Regions from separate parts of the Homo sapiens genome. Here all the other regions are linked to region 2. The links are contacts of gene promoters, found by promoter capture Hi-C in blood cells and fetal thymus (Javierre and others, 2016). All regions are on one chromosome and are shown on one strand. The core of a region is centred on a gene start or on the middle of the fragment in contact, and the rest is flanking DNA. Distances in the headings are between cores, read along the strand shown. Region 1 overlaps ORC2 (origin recognition complex subunit 2). Region 2 holds the start of CFLAR-AS1 (CFLAR antisense RNA 1). Region 3 has its middle 6.1 kb from the start of FLACC1. Region 4 overlaps HYCC2 (hyccin PI4KA lipid kinase complex subunit 2). Region 5 overlaps HYCC2 (hyccin PI4KA lipid kinase complex subunit 2). Region 6 holds the start of ORC2 (origin recognition complex subunit 2). Region 7 overlaps HYCC2 (hyccin PI4KA lipid kinase complex subunit 2).

What was found. Contacts are between HindIII fragments. The CHiCAGO score rates a contact against its expected background, and 5 or more counts as called.
Region 1: a fragment that was not itself captured here is called in contact with the fragment with the promoter of CFLAR-AS1 in region 2 in 15 of 17 cell types (erythroblasts, neutrophils, megakaryocytes and 12 more); the score reaches 20.6 in erythroblasts.
Region 3: a fragment that was not itself captured here is called in contact with the fragment with the promoter of CFLAR-AS1 in region 2 in 4 of 17 cell types (neutrophils, activated CD4 T cells, non-activated CD4 T cells and 1 more); the score reaches 11.5 in neutrophils.
Region 4: a fragment that was not itself captured here is called in contact with the fragment with the promoter of CFLAR-AS1 in region 2 in 6 of 17 cell types (neutrophils, erythroblasts, activated CD4 T cells and 3 more); the score reaches 13.0 in neutrophils.
Region 5: a fragment that was not itself captured here is called in contact with the fragment with the promoter of CFLAR-AS1 in region 2 in 11 of 17 cell types (neutrophils, erythroblasts, activated CD4 T cells and 8 more); the score reaches 14.7 in neutrophils.
Region 6: the fragment with the promoter of ORC2 here is called in contact with the fragment with the promoter of CFLAR-AS1 in region 2 in 14 of 17 cell types (neutrophils, megakaryocytes, erythroblasts and 11 more); the score reaches 16.0 in neutrophils.
Region 7: a contact is called between a fragment that was not itself captured here and the fragment with the promoter of CFLAR-AS1 in region 2, in 6 of 17 cell types (neutrophils, erythroblasts, activated CD4 T cells and 3 more). The highest score is 12.3, in neutrophils.

The regions. Positions count from the first base shown.
Region 1 is chr2:200,920,567-200,923,266 of GRCh38, reverse strand. It overlaps ORC2 (origin recognition complex subunit 2), which reads left to right. Exons shown (of 18, transcript NM_006190.5): 14 at 2,128-2,274. Among named protein-coding and RNA genes, the nearest start is that of NIF3L1, 33 kb to the right of the region's middle. The HindIII fragment of the contact is 5,097 bases long and covers 1-2,700 here.
Region 2 is chr2:201,156,517-201,159,221 of GRCh38, reverse strand. It overlaps CFLAR-AS1 (CFLAR antisense RNA 1), which reads left to right and starts at 1,430. Exons shown (of 7, transcript NR_040030.1): 1 at 1,430-1,467. All of the region lies in intron 8 of CFLAR (CASP8 and FADD like apoptosis regulator), which reads right to left. RefSeq lists enhancers at 702-1,031, 1,052-1,131. The HindIII fragment of the contact is 4,248 bases long and covers 1-2,705 here.
Region 3 is chr2:201,362,092-201,364,791 of GRCh38, reverse strand. It overlaps a transcript of FLACC1 not described here. Among named protein-coding and RNA genes, the nearest start is that of FLACC1, 6.1 kb to the right of the region's middle. RefSeq lists an enhancer at 876-925. The HindIII fragment of the contact is 2,414 bases long and covers 109-2,522 here.
Region 4 is chr2:200,981,814-200,984,513 of GRCh38, reverse strand. HYCC2 (hyccin PI4KA lipid kinase complex subunit 2) reads left to right here. Exons shown (of 13, transcript NM_001321623.1): 13 at 2,643-2,700. All of the region lies in intron 1 of LOC105373835 (a long non-coding RNA gene), which reads right to left. Among named protein-coding and RNA genes, the nearest start is that of ORC2, 20 kb to the right of the region's middle. The HindIII fragment of the contact is 2,788 bases long and covers 1-2,700 here.
Region 5 is chr2:200,998,770-201,001,469 of GRCh38, reverse strand. All of the region lies in intron 7 of HYCC2 (hyccin PI4KA lipid kinase complex subunit 2), which reads left to right. The region is part of intron 1 of LOC105373835 (a long non-coding RNA gene); the gene reads right to left. Among named protein-coding and RNA genes, the nearest start is that of ORC2, 36 kb to the right of the region's middle. The HindIII fragment of the contact is 2,498 bases long and covers 186-2,683 here.
Region 6 is chr2:200,962,325-200,965,037 of GRCh38, reverse strand. ORC2 (origin recognition complex subunit 2) reads left to right here and starts at 1,378. Exons shown (of 18, transcript NM_006190.5): 1 at 1,378-1,548. It overlaps LOC105373835 (a long non-coding RNA gene), which reads right to left and starts at 1,606. Exons shown (of 3, transcript NR_187976.1): 1 at 1,408-1,606. RefSeq lists a silencer at 969-1,367 and an enhancer at 2,076-2,145. The HindIII fragment of the contact is 10,169 bases long and covers 1-2,713 here.
Region 7 is chr2:201,018,874-201,021,579 of GRCh38, reverse strand. All of the region lies in intron 4 of HYCC2 (hyccin PI4KA lipid kinase complex subunit 2), which reads left to right. LOC105373835 (a long non-coding RNA gene) reads right to left here. Exons shown (of 3, transcript NR_187976.1): 3 at 2,510-2,706. Among named protein-coding and RNA genes, the nearest start is that of HYCC2, 51 kb to the left of the region's middle. The HindIII fragment of the contact is 3,143 bases long and covers 1-2,706 here.

The DNA.
Region 1 (2,700 bases), core at 138-2,637, 240 kb after region 2:
CAAAAAGAGTAAATAAATAAAAATAAAATTGCCTTTAAACAGAAACACACATAAAACAAAGTTATATATTGAACCTAACCCTGTATTTCCTCTGGGAACAGTGGTTCAGTATTCAATAATTCAGGATTTGCAGCAGCATAGAACTTAATGTAATGAGAGTCAAGTATATATTTCCCAGAACCCTAAAACTACTGCATATGTGAACATATCTTATTCATTGATTATGTGGGCATATAGTGAATTACTAGCAGGTTATTGTAAGAGAAACAAATCTGTTTGGTTTGTTTTCAGTTCTTTCAACCTTATTATTTAATTAAAAATCAATTGCTGCAATATTTATTCCTATAATAATTTTGCCTTGTTTTTCTGAATTGTCTTTAGTTTTCAACATAAGTTCTCCTACTTAAAGAATAACAGAAGCATTGCTTTTTATTCCCTTACCACAGATCCTTGTAAGAGCCCAGTATTGTTCGTATGCTCATTAAAATAGATGCCTAAGTCACTTTATATTTGTGTGCGTCTGTGTGTATACATACGTTTGGTTTTGGGTGTTTTTGGTTTTGATACTGTTAAATATGATGACGTCTAGATTTCAGGGAACCTGGGATTTTCACAATGTGTCATCTCAGAATCTTTGTCACTGTATTGTCTCTCTTACCCATCTACCCCCGAGTAGAAGAGAAATTAACTCACTCTCTGAAAGACTTATACTCTATCACGTATGCCAAGTCTCCAGAGAGACTTATCAATACCTGTGGCTTTTAAATATACATTAAAAATAAAAGTTACCTGATTCTGCTGCCCTTTCACACTATTTTATTTTTCTGTTTCATACGGTTTCAGTATTTTGGAAGACATGTCCTGCCTTCAATTTTTTTTTTTTTTTTTTTTACCTATTTCATTCTAATGTCTTTCCTCTGTGCTATCAGAACTGTATGCTTGATCACCTGTAACTTTCTTCTTACCAAGCCCAGTGACCTTGGCTCATCCTTTATCTTGATCTCTGCTGTATTTGATAGTGTCAACAGCTCCATCCTCTAAATTCCTCCTTCACTGACTTTTATAATTTATCTGAACTTCCTGATGCCTTGAGCAGTATCCTAACCCCCACCCCCCACCCACTCCTTTTTTGGTCTCCTTTGGCTTTTGTGATAATCCGGGTTTTCTATATAATCTCTGAGAGCATTATATATAATGCTTTCTGAGAAATCCTTTGGTTTTTTTGGTATCCCTCCACTCCCACAGTGTAATAAAACATGCACAGATTCACCTCCAATCTATTGTATACATCTTGCCTATTTCCCATGCCTTATTAAAGCTGCTTTCTTTAGGCTGAGCACGGCGGCTCACACATGTAATCCCACCACTTTGGGAGGCCGAGGCGGGCAGATCACTTGAGCTCACGAGTTCTAGACCAGCCTGGGCAACATGGTGAAACCCCATCTCTACAAAAAATATAAAAATCAGCTAGGTGTGGTGGTACACGCCTATAGTCCCAGCTACTCGGGAGGCTGAAGTGGAAGGATGGCTTGAGCCCTGGATGTCAGGGTTGCAGTGAGCTGAGATCACCCCACTGCACTCTAGCCTGGACAACAGAGCCAGAACTTGTCTTAAAAAACAAAACAAAACAAAAAGCTGCTTTCTGTAGGGCCTGACTTCAGTGCTAATCATGTCTATTTTATGAGTAAATGACATATCTTCTCAAATAAATTACATACCCCTAAGCAATCATTATTTTATCCTATACTACTTTATTTTTTAATACCTAGGCATTGTGTATGGTAGAGGAAATAATCACTGAAATATCACTAAAAATAATAATTGCAGCTGGACATGGTGGTTCACGTCTGTGATCCTAGCACTTTGGGAGGCCAAGTTGAGTCCAGGAGTTCAAGACCAACCTGGGCAACTTAGTGAGACCCCGTCTCTACCAAAAAAACAATTAGCCAGGCATGGTGGTGTGCGCCTAGTTCCAGGTAATCGAGAGGCTGAGGTGGGAGGATTGCTTGAGTCCAGGAGTTGGAGGCTGCAGTGAGCTATGATTGTACCACTGCACTCTAGCCTAGGCAACAGAGTGAGACCCTCTAAAAATAATAATAATAATAATTGGATTTCTTTTCTTTTTAGATTCTTCTTTAGAACTCTTCCTTCTCATCCACAATTTGGATAGCCAGATGTTGAGAGGAGAGAAGAGCCAGCAAATCATTGGTCAGTTGTCATCTTTGCATAACATTTACCTTATAGCATCCATTGACCACCTCAATGCTCCTCTCAGTAAGTTAATTGTTACTATTTTTCCTTCTAGAGATATCAGTCTTACAAGACAAATTCTATTAATATAAATCAGAAAATTTTTACTGTTTTTAGTACGCTTTTTCCCCTTTTACATGTTTAAAAACACAGGTTGCCAAAAAGATGTTCTCAATCTAATTTAGAACATAATTTTTGGAAATAAAAATTCAGATACTAAATGAGGATGTTTTAGTCTAAAGTTAAATGGAGGGAAAAGACCCAACTATTATTTTGGTCTCTTTCTCTTCTTGTAATATCGCAACATTTATTTTATGAACTTAATTTATAGACTTTCTGATAATCCTGTAGAAGAAAATGTTAAAACATTACTAATTTTTTAAAAAGAATGCATTGGTAGTGCTAAGATTTTAATTTATGCTTAATTGAAAATAAAGGTTCAGATGTTGG
Region 2 (2,705 bases), core at 181-2,680:
GACATGATTCACAGGTTGCAAATAACCCATTAAATAGTGAGGGCAACCAGCCCCAGTGGCTCACATCTGTAATCCTAGCACTTTGGGAGGCCGAGACGGGCAGATCACCTGAGGTCAGGAGTTCGAGACCAGTCTGGCCAATATGGTGAAACCCCGTCTCTACTAAAAATACAAAAATTAGCCAGGCGTGGTGGTGCTCACCTGTAATCCCAGCTACTAGGGAGGCTGAGACAGGAGAATTGCTTGAACCCGGGAGGCAGAGGTTGCAGTGAGCCAAGATTGCGCCACTGCACTCCAGCCTGGGCAACAGAGCAGAACTCCGTCTCAAATTCAAATAATAATAATAATAATAATAATAATAATAATAATGATGAGGGCAAATGCCGTTACAGGATCTCTGGGTAGCTGTTATCAGGACTGTAATTTTGCACAGCCTTTTTGAAGAGCAATTTGGGAGTATCATTAAATTTTAAATGTGTATACCCTTTATAAAAAAAAGAAAACTCTGTGTGGTAGAAGAGGCCTGGACGCACTGTCCCCTAGCCATCTCCTCTGAGGGTGCAGGCTTGTTTCGATACCCAGTGCTGAATCCAGGCTGAACAAGGAGAGAACCTGGACTAGGACTCCAGTTCCATCACTGCTATTCTATTCCAAAGGACTCACACGTCTCTAATCATGGAGTATTTGCTCCTCCAGGGGGCAGAAGCAAACAGGGAAACACCAGACTCAAAGCTCTTTTGTGTACTTATCTCAAGATTGGTTCACTTCCCTCAAAACCTCTCTTCACTGATAAATGTCCTTCCTTATCAAACAAAGTCCTTGAAAGAAAACTTCACCACATTCTCCCTGCCCATGCTGATATGTAAGGCTTGGACAGAACAAATGCTGTACTGTGCCTTCCAGCTCTTTCCTTTATTTGTGCTCCCTGGAGGTTCTGGCTGGGGAAGCCCCTGTCACATGACTGTGAGCAGACAGCTGTGTGGTGCAGGGCAAAAGAGGAACCAGCCTTGGAATCACAAGATGTGGGTTTAAGTCCTAGTTCCTCCATCTCCTCCTACTAGGGTCTGAATCTTGCATGGTCTTGGAAGAGACTGAGCTATAACAGCAGAGAAGCTAGGAAGGAAATGGGAATCTGAGGTCTGGGGCAGAAAATCCTTACCTAAAAGAACAGAAGAAAAATGGCTAAAGCTGGAGGTGAAGCCAAAAACCATGCAGGTCCCAAGTGCCAATAAGAATAGCAGGTCTGAGCCTCAGACAAGACACAGCATTGCTTAAATATCCTGTGGCAAGGGAGTCACTCCACAGGCCCAGCCTGAAGACATTACCGCTGACATTTCCCATTAACGTCACAATTTTCCTCTATGAGGTGGTGAGGTGGAGTGGGAAGGGCTGTTAGCTGGCACTTGCAACTTTATTGCGCCAGCAAGAACATGCATACAGCCCAGTCTAACGTACAGGATCAAAAAGGTAATGACAGTGTGACTTTGAGTCAGTTTGAGTCAGCCCCAGTTTATTCATCTATAAAACAAGATTAAAACTAATGCTTGGCCAGGTGCAGTGGCTCACACCTACAATCCCAGCACTTTGGGAGGCTGAGGTGGGAGGATGGCTTGAGCTCAGGAGTTTGAGACCACCCTGGGCATCACAGGGAACCCCGTCTCTACAAAAAATAAAAAAACTAGCCAGGCATGGTAGTACAAGCCTGTAGTCATCACAGCTACTCAGGAGGCTGAGGCAGGAGGATCTCTTGAGCAGGAGGTTCTTCAAAAGGTGACTGTGAGGGCAGGGTACAGTGGCTCATACCTGTAATCCCAGCACTTTGGGAGGCCAAGGCGGGTGGATTGCTTGAGCTGCAGAGTTTGAGACCAGCCTGGGCAACATGGCGAAACCCCATCTCTACCAAAAATACAAAAATTGGCTGGGCATGGTGGCACGCATCTGTGGTCCCAGCTACTTGGGAGGCTAAGGAAGGAGGATCACTCGAGCCCAGGAAGTGGAGGAGCCAAGATCGCTCCACTGCACTCCAGCCTGGGTGAAAGAGTGAGACTCTGTCTCAGAAAAAAGGTGACCGTGAGGATCCAATGAGATTTCTGTAAAGATGCTTTGCAAACTGTGTTTATTCAAATATAAGATATTGACTTTAAAGGAAATAAAGGCAGCCATTTCAAAGTACAAATCACCAACCTTATGGTGTTGCACATCTCTCATGGAATCTCTCTCTTAGGACCTGGAGGGAGGTCTCTATATTCTAAACTAAAATGGGCTCAGAGCAGACAGAGTCCATATCCTATGTAGGTAGGACAGTAACTGTTTTGTCCTTGCACATAAATAGAGGAAGAAAAACTTGGGGGCTGGGTTTGGAAAATAAAATTTCAACAAACTACAGAAGACCCACTTCTCCTTCTAGAACCCACCCTGGAAATCCCACACTCAACCCAGTCTGATCTCCGTAAATTTCAACTGTTCTTTAGAACTTCTGGAAATGATGTGGGGGGGTGGGGAGGGGAAGGGCAGGGGTTCTTCTGGCCTTGCAGTTAGTACAGGGCTGTTCATTCAAGGCTAGGGTCAGCACTACTCACAGGTTTGAGGACTTCACAGATAAACCAAAAAAACCAAAATACAGTAAAATGTCATGACTTCATTAATTTAGAATTTGTTTTGATCTAAATGAGGATACATTTATCTTGACAATTTCTATGAAAAGG
Region 3 (2,700 bases), core at 66-2,565, 210 kb before region 2:
TTTAAAAATTATTTTTTCCTTATTTTTGTGTAACTGAGTTAGCTCAAAAGATCAGTCTTCAAGCTCTGAAATTCTTTCTTCTGCTAGGTCCAGACTATTGATAAAGCTTTCAATTGTATTTTGAAATTCCCTGAGTGAGTTTTTCAACTTCAGAAGCTCTGATTGATTTCTTTATAAGATGTTTATCTCTTGCTTCATTTCCTGGATTGCTTTAGAAGTTTTGTGTTGTTGATTTTTAACCTTGACTTGGATCTCATTGATCTTCCTTGTAATCCATGCTTTGAATTATTTATCCGTTCTTTCTGAGTTTCTATTTTGGCTATAGACCATTGCTGGAGAGCAAGTTTGATCCTTTGGTGGTGTCACTATATTGAGATTTTTCATGGTGCCAGAATTCTCGCACTGATTCCTTCTCATCTGGAGATGCTGGCATTTTAATTTTATAGTATTTTCATATAGGTTAGGATTATTTATTTTTCCTTCTGTCCCTATAATATTATTGGGGTTTTTTTTCTTTCCCTTTCCCTTTTCCCCCCTCTCTAGGGAGTGTGACTATAAAGAATGCTGGGTAGGGTCTTTTGGCTTTGCTTCTATAACCCTATTCACTTCTGTCAGCAGGTTTTATACTGGGCTGTGCAGTTCAACCTACAAACCAGTAGATGGTGCTAATAGGTAAGAGCCTGCTATGGCCAATGTGACTGAGTATATACTTGATCCTTGTTTATGGGGAAAAGCTCTGTTACCTCAGGCAATGAGCTGATTCATGGGGTGCATAGTGGTCTGAGCTCCCTGCTCAGACACAGGGAGGGAGGGGCCAAAATGAGCAGAGCTGGACTAGGCAGGTCCAACTACAGGTCCCCTGATGGCAGGTACAAGTACCAGCACTGAGGGAGAATGCAGTGGGTAGCCACTACCAAGCACCCAGAGATGCTTGGGAAATTTCCTCGACCCCAAGTTCCCTGCAAAGGGATGGGGGCGGCTTAAACTAATCCAGTAGAGTGACTGCTCCAGATGCCTGGAGCTCTATCTAGGCATGGAGCCCCACTGCACCAGGATCTATGCACAGGAAGGGTGAGGTGCTCAGGCTGCTGTTCCAGGCAAGTGAGTGCTCTAAATGCCTAGAGATCTGCCTGAGCATGGAGGAGAGAGGGCCCCCCATACCAAGACCTCTGCGTAGGAGGGTTTGGGTGACTCAGACTGCTGATCGAGGAAAATGGGTGCTCCGAATGCCTGATGATCTGCCTGGTCATGGAGCAGAGAGGGCCTTGCTGCACCATGATCTATGTCTTGGAATGGGGAGGGGCAGCGGCTCAGGCTGCTGAACCAGATGAGCAAGTGCACCTAATGCCTAGAGATCTGCCGGGGTGCAAAATGGAGAGGGCTTTCCCACACCCAGATCTCTGCACAGGAAAGGTAGGGCACTCAGGCTGCTAGTCCATGTGAGCAGGTGCTCCAAATGCCTGGAGATCTGCCTAGAGTTGGAGTGGAGAGGGCACCCTTGCACCACAATCTATACACAGGAAAGGTAGGACAACTCAGGCTGCTGATCCAAGGAAGGGGGTGCTCCAGATACCTGGAGATCTGCCTGGGTGTGGAGCAGAGAGAGCCACGCTGTACCACAATCTATGTCCATGAAGGGTGAGGCAGCTCAGGCTGCTGGTCCAGACAAGCAAGTGCTCCAAATGCCTGGATTTCTGCCTGAGGGTGGAGCAGAGGGCTCTGCTGCACCACAATCTCAGGGGAGCAGGCTGGGTCACCCTGCAATGACATATGCAGACTAGTTCCAGGTTACCAAGCTAGCCCTGGCTGCAAGTCTCATCACACAGGAGAAACTGCAGCTGTAGCAGCTCTCCTCCCACCTCAGGCCTGCAAAGCGGGAGAGCACAATCCCTGCACCTACTACTGAGGCTCTTTGCACAGTTCTGGCTATGGAGACTCCTACCCTAAGCCAGAGCAGGTGCTCCAATTGCTGACCCAAGACTAAAATGCCTGTGTGGCCACACTGCTAGGTCACCAAAGAATGCCTGGATTAAAAATGGCACCCTGCTTTCAGTCCTGAGTCTGGGAAAATGTTTGCAGCTTTTCTCTATGTCTTTTCCTCACAGTGTTTCCAAGCCGCTTCCCCAAGTTAGCTCCAGAGCTTGCGAGAAACAAAGTGCTCTCCCTCAGCCTGGGTTGCCTGGATCCCAAGTGGAAAGGTGAGTCATAGAGGGAGGCTGTCTGCCTCTCCCATGTACTAGGGCTTCACTCATTTTTATCAGCTGCATGCCATCACTGGGGCTGTTTGTCCACATTCTCCTCCCTGGCATCTGGGGTGTCCTTCACAATTCTAGTGGATTCCCATTTTCCTTTTTGGATAAAAACCCACAGAGATGATCTTTACACACTATCTTGCTATTTCCAAGGAGCCAAGGCACACTGAAAGACTCTAATCTGCCATCTTGGAAAAAAAAAAGAAACTGTTTTTTTAAAAAAACTCAGTATCCATTTAGAATTATGACCATCTTGTGAGAAATGAAGCTTGAGACTCTACTTTGATATCAAATTTAGTGCTATTCTCATCATCTTTAATTGTGTTTTCTTTCACAAATGACTACTAGTGGATGTGTTTAAGTCCAAAAAACCTTCTGATGAGGTTTAAGATTTGGGGCTTTAAGCATCCTGTTGACTTCTATTGTTAGTTTCACTATATTAAATTTG
Region 4 (2,700 bases), core at 131-2,630, 170 kb after region 2:
GATTATTGACTAGTTTTCTGCTATGATGGCTTTAAATAATTTTACAATTAAAATTGGGTTTATTACATGTTGAAATTGAAGGGACAATATAAGCCCATCACTTACTTTTCTCCTGATTGTCAAGTACATTCTATTTATGACTTTTAAAGCTGGAGTTAAGATTATTACTAAACTGGCCAGGCACGATGGCTCATGCCTATAATATCAGCACTTTGGGAGGCCCAGGCAGGTGGATTGCTTAAGCCCAGGAGTTTGACACCAGCCTGGGCAACATGGCAAAACCCCATCTCTACAAAATATACAAAAATTAGCCAAGCATGGTGGCAGATGCCTGTAGTCCCAGCTGCTTAAGAGGCTGAGGTGGGAGGATCACTTGAGCCTGGGAGGTTGAGGCTACAGTGGGCTGTGATCGTGCCACTGCACTCCAGCCTATACAACAGAGTGAGACCTTGTCTCAAAAAAAAATAATAAAAATAAATAAATGTTTTTAAAAATTATTACTAAACTGAAGATAATACCTGTGATTAAAGTACAATCAGTATTCCATTATATATACTAAGCATTTCTTAGTATATAAAATATCAGTAGATTCTCTTGCATGGTGGCTTTTATGTTATCATCTTTTTTATGGCCATATTGCTTGGGCATCAGATCTGCATGTAGCAAGATTCAGAAGCTAGCACTAAGTCTCTCAGTCTCCTTTCCTAATAAATATACCTAATGATACATTTCTGTTCACTCCCAGTTTTATATCACTAATATCAATTCTGACCCAATAACTATCCTTTCTTGGGCATTTTGGAGTTCTTTATACTAATTGTAAGTAAATTACTAAAATGTATCATATGAATATAATTTAAAGTTTTTATTTTGAGGTACATTATAAAAGTACATTATATACAGTTCTTTTGAAGAGGTTGAGAGAAGTGGTGTCAGCTGCTACTGTTCTTAGTAAATGCATTTTCATATGGCTTTGCATGATGATTAAAGATTATTAAACTGCTGGATATAATAAGGTGCCTTTTGCTTTAAGGATAGCTTATTTCATTCTTTAGAAGGAAGAAAATAATCCATATGAGTAAATATAGCTAAGTAAATAGTTTATTTTTCCAGGTGCTATGTTAAATAAAAGATTGTGTTTAAATATTTTGTATATATTTTGCTTAGGTAACCTATATCTCTAATATTTGTTTAGATTCTTTCCTAACATTTTTACCTTACCTGTAATGTTGATATCTGTTTTGTAGATTCAGATTAAACTTTACAGAAGTCTGGAAAATGTATTTAATAGGTAGCAAACCAATATGAGTTATTGAAAGAAGCAAATGTATTACTTTCTAAGAGAATATTCATCATACTTTCAGTAAGAGAATTGGCTTTCTGTAAACTGCAAGCTCAGTATATTATATATTCTTCTCTTCTTCCTACAAAAACCCAAGATAAGAATTCTGTTGTTGGCCGGGCGCGGTGGCTCATGCCTGTAATCCCAGCACTTTGGGAGGCTGAGGTGGGCAGATCACTTGAGGTCAGGAGTCGGAGACCAGCCTGGCCAACATGGTGAAATCCCATCTCTACTAAAAATACAAAAATTAGCTGGGCGTGGTGACACACGCCTGTAATCCCAGCTACTCGGGAGGCTGAGGCAGGAGAATTACTTGAACCTGGGAGGCAGAGGTTGCAGTGAGCTGAAGATCGTGCCACTGCACTCCAGTCTGGGTGACAGAGCAAGACTGTCTCAAAAAAAATAAATAAATAAATTATTTTGTTAACTGCAGTTTCTGCATGAAATGAAATGTGATGGGACACTATCGTATTTTGTGATTATGACAATACATCTCAATACTAAGAATCTAAAATATAGAAATAATTACATAAAATATTATCAAAACATACCATATAGAAAATATAAATCCTTAAATACCCCTGCTGGTTCCCTACCACTGCTCTCTGATATTTTCTTCACATTAATTGATCAAAATATGGAAACCAGTGAGTAGAAAAGGCCATAGACAAAATATGACTGTGAAGTTACAGAAGCAATATAGTTTTGAGTTATTTAAAAAATTTGCTAGTTCCATGTTAAAGGTTCTAAAACCATATAGAAGCAGTTAACCAACCACTGAGTAAATATAAAATTTTATTATAGTTAAAAAGAGTTTGGCCTGTAAGCATAAATGGGTTTTTGGTATAATTCTGGATAACTGGAATTAGAAGAGGGTCTCTTTTGCACATCTTATGGTGGGTTAAAGAAGGTATGAGGGGAAAAGTTTTTTTTTTTTTTTTCCAGTAGGTAGATATGGTCATTTCAGAAGAAGAATGATAGTGTATTATAAAAATTTATGTTAACAAACTGTTGTATTTTACCTAGTCGTTTTACATGCCTAAATATTGACAGTATACTAGATATGTTTGTGGATAGTTGTACAAAAACTGGACTAAATAAAGCTAAACTAACATCTATTAGCATAGTAGAATTCTGTGTAGATTAAGATTTCCCCTAAATTATTTAGGGGAAGTGTTGATAGTAGGGCCATTGACAACCTATAGCGAACATTGCCCAAGAGATAAGGTCAGTGTTGTTATTCACAGCTGCTTCTTATTTAATTTAGCTATTGCTGAGTCTGTCTGATTTGTTTTCTTAGGTGCTGAGGGTGTAAATGGAGGAGAGGAGTCTGTAAACCTGAATGATGCAGATGAAGG
Region 5 (2,700 bases), core at 185-2,684, 160 kb after region 2:
TTTATTTATCCATTCATCAGTGGATGGACATTCGAGTTATTTCTATTTTTTCTTTTTTGGCTGTTATGAATAACTCTGCTCTCTTTAGTCTATTTGGGCTGCTATAACAAAATACCTTAGACTGGGTAATATATAAACGATAGAAATGTATTGCTCACAGTTCTGCAGATTCGAAAGTACAAGCTTAAAGTGCCAGCAGATTCAGTGTCTAGTAAGGGCTCATAGTCTCTGCCTCATAGATGGCACCTTCTAGATAATCAAATGTAGGAGGGCAGAGCTGTCATGACCTAATCGTGTCCCAAAGGCCCCATCTCTTTTTTTTTTTTTTTTTTGAGACAGAGTCTAGCTCTGTCACCCAGGCTGGAGTGCAGTGTCACGATCTTGGCTCACTGCACCCTCTGCCTCCTGGGTTCAAGTGATTCTCCTGCCTCAGCCACTTGAATAGTTGGTACTACAGGTGTGCAACACCGTGCCTGGCTAATTTTTTTTTTTTTTTTTTGTAGAGACAGGGTTTCACTATGTTGGCCAGGCTGGTCTTGAACTCCTGACCTCAGGTGATCCACCTGCCTTGGCCTCCCAAAGTGCTGGGATTATAGGCATGAGCCACCTTGCCCAGCTGCAAAGGCCCCACCCTCTTAATACCACCATATCGATGATTAAGTTTCAACATGAATTTAGACCACAACAGCTGTTTTGAACATGCATTCACAAATTTTTGTGTGAACATACATTTTTCAGTTCTTTTTAGTATATACCTAGGAATAGAATTGCTAGGTCATATGGTAATTCAACACTTAACTTCTTGAGGAACTGTCATGCTTCTTTCCAGAGTAGCTGTACCATTTTACGTTTCTACAACAGTGTATGAGGATAGCAGTTTCTCTACATTCTCACGCTTATTTTCCATCTTTTTTATTGTAGCCATCTTAATGGGTATAAAGAGTGATATGGCATTCTGGTATTTACTTGTTTTTGCTGTATGTTTTAGTTTTTTATGTAGCCAACTTTATCAGGAATACACATACATTTTTTTCCCCAAAGCTAAATATGCTTTAGCTCTGCATATTTTTCTTTTTTTCTTAAGACAGGGTCTTGCTTTGTTGCCCAGGCTGGTGTGCAGTGGCATGATCATGGCTTACTGCAGCCTGCACCCTAGAACCCCTGAGCTCAGGTGCTCCTCCTGAGCTCAAGTACTCCTGCCTCAGCTTCCTGAGTAACTAGGACTACCACCATGGCCCGCTAATTAAAAAAATTATTTTTGTACCAACAGGGTCTCAATATGTTACCCAGGCTGCTCTTGAATGCGTGAGCTCAAGCAATCCTCCCTGCCTCAGCCTCCCAAAGTGCTGGGATTTCAGGAATGACCTACTGGACGGAGCCTCCTATTTCTTTTTTTTTTTTTTTTTTTTTTTGAGACGGAGTCTTGCTCTGTTGCCCAGGCTGGAGTGCAGTGGCATGATCTCAGCTCACCATAACCTCCGCCTCTCGGGTTCGAGTGATTCTCCTGCCTCAGCTTCCCGAGTAACTGGGACTACAGGCGCGCGCCACCATGCCCAGCTAATTTTTGTATTTTTAGTAGAGATGGGGTTTCACTATGTTGGCCAGGCTGGTCTCGAACTCCTGACTGTATGATCCGCCTCGGCCTCCCAATGTGCTGGGATTACAGATGTGAGCCACTGCGCCCAGCCCTTCTATTTCTTTATAGTCTCTTTTTCATCCTAGTAGAGTTCCTTAGATGTCTGGCAACCTTTTTTCCCTCATGTTTAAGAATAGGGGAATAGGCTGGGTGCGGTGGCTCACGCCTGTAATCCCAGCACTTTGGGAGGCCGAGGCAGGCAGATCACCTGAGGTCAGGAGTTCGAGACCAGCCTGGCCAAAATAGTGAAACCCTGTCGCTACTAAAAATACAAAAAAAAATTAGCCAAGTGTAGTGGTGGGCACCTGTAATCCCAGCTACTTGGGAGGCTGAGGCAAGAGAATGGCTTGAACCTGGGAGGCGGAGGTTGCAGTGAGCCGAGATCATGCCATTATACTTCAGCCTGGGTGACAAGACCGAGACTCTGTCTCAAAAAAAAAAAAGTGGGGAGAGGGAATAAAAAATGAGAAGCTCTGACCATGTTAATATATGGCTGATTTGAGCTAGTATTGGTGCAAAAGTTATTGTGGTTTTGCCATTTAAAAAATTTTTTTTAAAGTTTTGCACCAACTTAGTAACTGACTATAAACTTCACCATAGGATCCCACTAGGCCATTCATTTGGAAAATTTCCCAAGTCCATATCTTTAAGTCTTTCTTCTTAGAGTGGTCAAATTCCCTAGAAACAACTCTTCTGGTATCTTAACTAGAGATCTTTTTGCTAGTATTTTGGTGGCAAACTGGCAATATCTAGGCAGGTATATTTCACTTCACTTAATCTTCCTATTTTCAGTTTGGCATCCACCCCCATCACAGCTAGGGCTCCCAGGTAGAAATTAGTTTTTATCCTTTCAGAGAATAAATCTCCATTCTTTTACCTAGATATATGGAGAAAGTGAAGGGATCTGAAAGTATGGCTGCTTCCAGATCAGACTTTCAGCTTGATTTTTAACTTTTCATTTTGAAATAACTTCAGACTTACAAAAAACATTGCTAAAATAGTACAAAGAGTTTCCATAAACCCTTCACCATTCATCTATGGGAAGCTTTTTAGAGGTACAACTT
Region 6 (2,713 bases), core at 129-2,628, 190 kb after region 2:
TTTCAATACAAATCTGACCAGTGCCCTAAGGGCCAACTAAGCCCTTCATAATAACAGACCCAATGCTTGGCATTTTACACAGCTGTTACACGGATTTGGACCTTCTACCTGGAAAATTTTACCCCTCTTGGCCTGTTTTAAATCTATTCAACACAGGGGTTTCAGTTTAAACATCTCTTCCTCCTAGAAAATTGTTCCTGACTCCTTCTGGGCTTTTAATTAGCTACTCCTACCATGTGCTCCAATGCACTTCCCATATCATGGTATTTTTCTCAATATTGTCCGTTCAATATCTTCACGTGCTAGGTAACTACAGTGAATGCAGAGATCGTAGTTGTCTCGCTCGATAATGAATACTTATCTTCTGTTCGCAGAGTACTCTGTAGTTTTGTTTTGAGTAAGTGAATCCAAATGAAACAATACCCTGTTCTTAATACTGTATGGATCCCATCCAGGTTCATTCCTTTTCTTCCTCATTTTCTCTGTCTTGTCTTTTTTATATTTTGGATAGTTGAAGTCAATCATTTTCTCTGTCTATTCATTCTATTTCCCCAGCCTCTTCATCCCACTAGCCGTCCGATCCCATCTCCATATTCAGTGCTTCTCCTAACGTCTCTTCTTCTCCCTACCCCAAACCCTGGAGATGTACAAGATCCTACCTTTCACGCCAAATGAAGAAAATCTTTAAAAAAGAAATGCGAATCAATTTCCATTACCTTTTTCTTCAAAAGGTAGCTGGGAAACCAATGAACACTTTTTTTTTTTTTTTTTTTTTTTTTTGAGACGGAGTTTCGCTCTTGTTGCCCAGGCTGGAATGCAATGGCTCGATCTCGGCTCACTGCAACGTCCGCCTCCCGGGTTCAAGCGTTTCTCCTGCCTCAGCCTCCCGAGTAGCTAGTATTACAGGCATGCGCCACCACGCCCGGCTAATTTTGTATTTTTAGGAGAGACGGGGTTTCTCCATGTCGGTCAGACTGGTCTCGAGCTCCCGACCTCAGGTGATTCGCCCGCCTCGGCCTCCCAAGGTGCTGGGATTAGAGGCGTGAGACACTGCGCCCGACCCCAAAGAACACTTTTTAAAGATTGCTACAAGACAAACAGCTACCACTCAGCCAGCTACTGTGCAAACTTCCTCAGATCCAAACAACACTTCCTTTTCCCTTCCCCGGAAACGGAAAGAAGAAAGGAAAGGTAAGGCCCACAACTCAGGGCCCAAGAATCCGTTTTCCTCAGGTTTCCTGATGGGCGGGGCCGAATGGCCGGCGCCGACTGGACGGCAGAGCCGTCGCTCTTGGCCGACTCCTCTTCCTATTGGCTTCCTCGGGCACCGCCCCCTGAACAGGGCGGGAGATTCGGTGTGCCGCACGCAGGCTTCCCATCCCCCAGCTGGCCTCCGGTGCTCCTTACCTCCCCGGTGGTCGGGCGCGAATTACTGGAAATTGGCTTTTCCCGTTGGGGCCGAAGGTACCTTCCCTGCGGCGGCGACTCAGCGGGGTGTCGTTCGGCCGGCGTGACGCAGCCGGATCGGCGCCAGACGGAAACCTAGCGGTGAGTAGTGGGGTGTCGGGGCAGCCTGCCTCCCTTTTCTGCTTAGCTCGCGGCGTGTGAGGTGCGTCCAGGTGCACCCAGCCCCGCGTCGGAGCTTGGCCCCTAGCGTCCCAAGTCGCGCATCTCAGGACTTTCCCTCGGCACTTGGGGCATGGTCTTTGCGCCTCGCTGCCCCCCGCAGGCTGCCCGGGGGCTCGAGAACCCTTACTGGTGGAGCGCAGCCAACTGGCCAGAGGCTGGAGGCGCAGGCCAAAGTCCTTTAAGACTTGAGGTGAGAGGCTCACTCTGGGAGGACCTTTCGTTAGTCTGCCCCGCAGTTATAGGCCTTTTGTGCAAGGGACGCCTGATACTAACCTACCTGATTCCCAGCTTACGAAGCCCTCTGGTTGGAAAAGGAGAACTGTGAAGATGTGTAACGACAGTGGTAAAGTGCCCTGTGAGGTATGAAGAGGAAGAGATCGCGTCCCAGAACCACTGTAGCTAGAACCTTTGATGTCATCCCAGCCTGGAGGCACCAATGTGTCCTGCCAGCTAACTGATCGGTCACCTTGGAGCCATGCTTGGCTGTAAAATGTTGATAAGCCAGGCTCTTTTGGTAGAGCTTTTTAATTAAAAAGATGTTGAGACGTTACTTTTCATTTTACAATTGAAATCCTAATAGAATCATTACACTTTCCCGCAGTTAAATTGCAATCTGAAGAAAAATAGCACGGCCCTACACCGTTATATAAGGGCACTGCACGTTAAACGGACATCATCACTTATTGAGCAGTTTTTCTGTTAGATGTTGAATGAGTTAGAGATGTACAAGAGATCTGCATGGTTAAGTTGAAGTTTAAAGTAAAAATATCTCAGTGCACTGCAGTAAGGAGCTAAAAAAGAAAAAGGTTAAAGTAAAAATACCGATAATTGGGAGCATTCAGTGATGCTCTTTTATATATCAGGCACATCATTTCATTTAATCGTCAGGACTTTGGACAAAGTCACACAGTTATAAAGTATGGAGTGGAGATTGGAACTCAGGTTTCTCCAATATTAAAATTGGTGTTTAACCACTAATCTATCCAACCTTCTTTTTCAAAGGATTATGTTTTTAAAAATTACAGCAAATCTTTTATTTGTTTTCAAAGGAGAGTGTGTTGCTACCACTTGGTGCAATGCTAAC
Region 7 (2,706 bases), core at 174-2,673, 140 kb after region 2:
GACAGTGAAGTACAAAATGAGATTCTAAAATGACATTTTCATTAGGGCTCACAAGTGTATAAGAAGTATCCCTTTCCTATTTTTTTGTTTAATACTTTAGAAGCTATTACATTAAAAAAGCTATTCTCATTACTTTCTGTTGTCATATTTCGTAATATTAATGTGTGGGACTTTGGGGGTTTCATGGCTAGAAATGGAAAAATTACAGCTTGAGGGATGCGAGCTCAAGGTCCAGCATTCATTATAATCAATCAGTTGCTAGAGGAGGTCTGAATTTCTCTCCTGTCTCCTGTCAGGTTAGAAGGCTCTAACCATGTGTTCAGACTTCAGAAAAATAGAATGATAAATTCTATAGAATTTCAAAACAATTCTGGACTTTAGTCATAGAAGGAGGTCCCTTTTAATCCTGATTTTGTTATATTCTGAAAGAAACAAACATACTATTTAGGTTACAAGAAATTATTTTAGAAAATTGTCATGTGCCATATTTAGTATGAATTAAACTTAAAATAGTTGCCGGCGCAGTGTCTCACGCCTGTAATCTCAGCACTTTGGGAGGCGGAGCGGAGTGGATCATGAGGTCAAGAGATTGAGACCATCCTGGCCAACATGATGAAACCCCGTCTCTACTAAAAATACCAAAAATTAGCTGGGTGTGGTGGTGCACGCCTGTAGTCCCAGTTACTCAGGAGGCTAAGGCAGGAGAATCGCTTGAACTTGGGAGGCGGAGGTTGCAGTGAGCCGAGATTGCATCACTGCACTCCAGCCTGGCAACAAAGCCAAGACTCCATCTCAGAGAAAAAAGAAAATATTTGGAAACTTTCATATTTTCAGATTCAAATCTACCATTCTACAGCACTCTCTTGCCTTTTCTGGTGTTTAGTGGGTGAAATATCTCAGGTTGTATGAAAAGCCATCTGTTCTACTTAGGCCTGGATTCTGTCTTCTCTAGCTACCTTAAGGACTCTGGTCCTGCAATTATTCCTTCTCTCTTCCATCACTGATCTTTTTTTCTTTCCCTGATGAGTGGAATATGATAAACAACCATATTCTATTCTCTAAAAACTTTATTTCAGCTTACCTCCTATTATATTATCTACCCCATTTCTCTGTCCCTATTCACAGATGAACTTCATAAAATATTGCTTATTCATAGCCTCTGTCTACTTGTCTCCATTTCTTCACCTCACATTCTTTAACCCACTCAAGTTAGGCTTGTTCATTATTCCATCCAAATACTCTCAGTGTGTTCATCAAATATCATGTCTCTTAGTAATTATCATGTCAAAACAGTGTTTGCTAAATTTGGGAATGGTGTCAGTTATGATTTTTTCTAACCCAAGGATGATGATTTTTAATACTTTTTGATGTGGGTGGTGGTGCCATTTAAGGGAGGTCAGAATCATTTATATTAAGAATTTGAGAACATGGTGCTTGCTATGAGACATATGCTTCAAATTAAAGTTTTTTTATTGTTTGTTTGTTTGTTTTTTTCTGAGCCAGGGTCTCACTCTCTCTCCCATGCTGGAGTACAGTGGCACCATTATAGCTCACTGTAACCTCAAACTCCTGGACTCATGTGATCCTCCAAACTCACCTTCTCAATTAGCTACAGGCACATGCTACCACACCCTGCTAATTTTATTTTTTATTTTCTAAAGACAGAGTCTCACGGTGTTCAAGGCTGGCCTTGAACTCCTGGGCTCAAGCGATCCTCCCACCTTGGCTTCCCAAAGTGCTGGGATTACAGGCATGAGCTATTGAGCCTGGCCACAATTAAAGATTTTAACACATAGCATTGGCAATTTTTCTTTTTTTTTTTTAAGACAGGGCCTCACTTTGTCACCCAGGCTGGAGTGCGGTGACTTGAACACAGCTCACTGTAGACTGAACCTCCTGGGCTCAAGCAATTCTTCTGCCTCAGCCCCCCAAAAATAGCTGGGACTACCCAGGTGCGTGCCACCACACCTGGCTAATTTTTGTATTTTTTGTAGAGGTGAGGTTTTGCCACATTGTGCAGGCTGGTCTGAAACTCCTGGTCTCGAGCCATCAGCCTGCCTTGGCCTCCCAAAGTGCCGGAATTACAGGCGTGAGCTACCACACCTGACCAGCGAGTTTTTAACGGTCTTACTTTGTAGTAGTATCTGATTAAAACTTACTGGATTGCCAACATCTACCCCCCATTCGCTTACAAAAAACACAGAGTAATAATGCTGGTAACCCTGTATTTCTTCACTGTGCTTAGTTAAAATATAGTGTCCCACATGCCAGTGTACCTGTTGCTACTGAGAAAGAGGAGTTTAAGGTCTTCATAGAAGAAATTCATCATAATTGTACCATGGCCCATAAAGTTTAGAGAAGGCAATCTTTGGAGAGTTTTTTACTAAAGAGGAGATTGAGTTTGAAACATGAGTATAAATTTTTAGTAAACAAAATTTGTGAGAGCAACAGTTTTTTACTTCTAAAGAACTGAATATTGCTCTCAATATTTAAGAAAGATGCCAGCAACTGACAGTTTCCAAAAGTTTATTACTTGTTCATTATTGGCACTACATAGAATACACTGTTTTGTGATTAAACAATCTATACCTCCATTCTAATATAAGAAGTGCGGTAGAGTGGAAACATCAACTTGATGTCAGAAGACCTGAATTTAGTGTCTTATTTCACCATTAACTTCACCAACCTTTGACAAATTGTCTGACT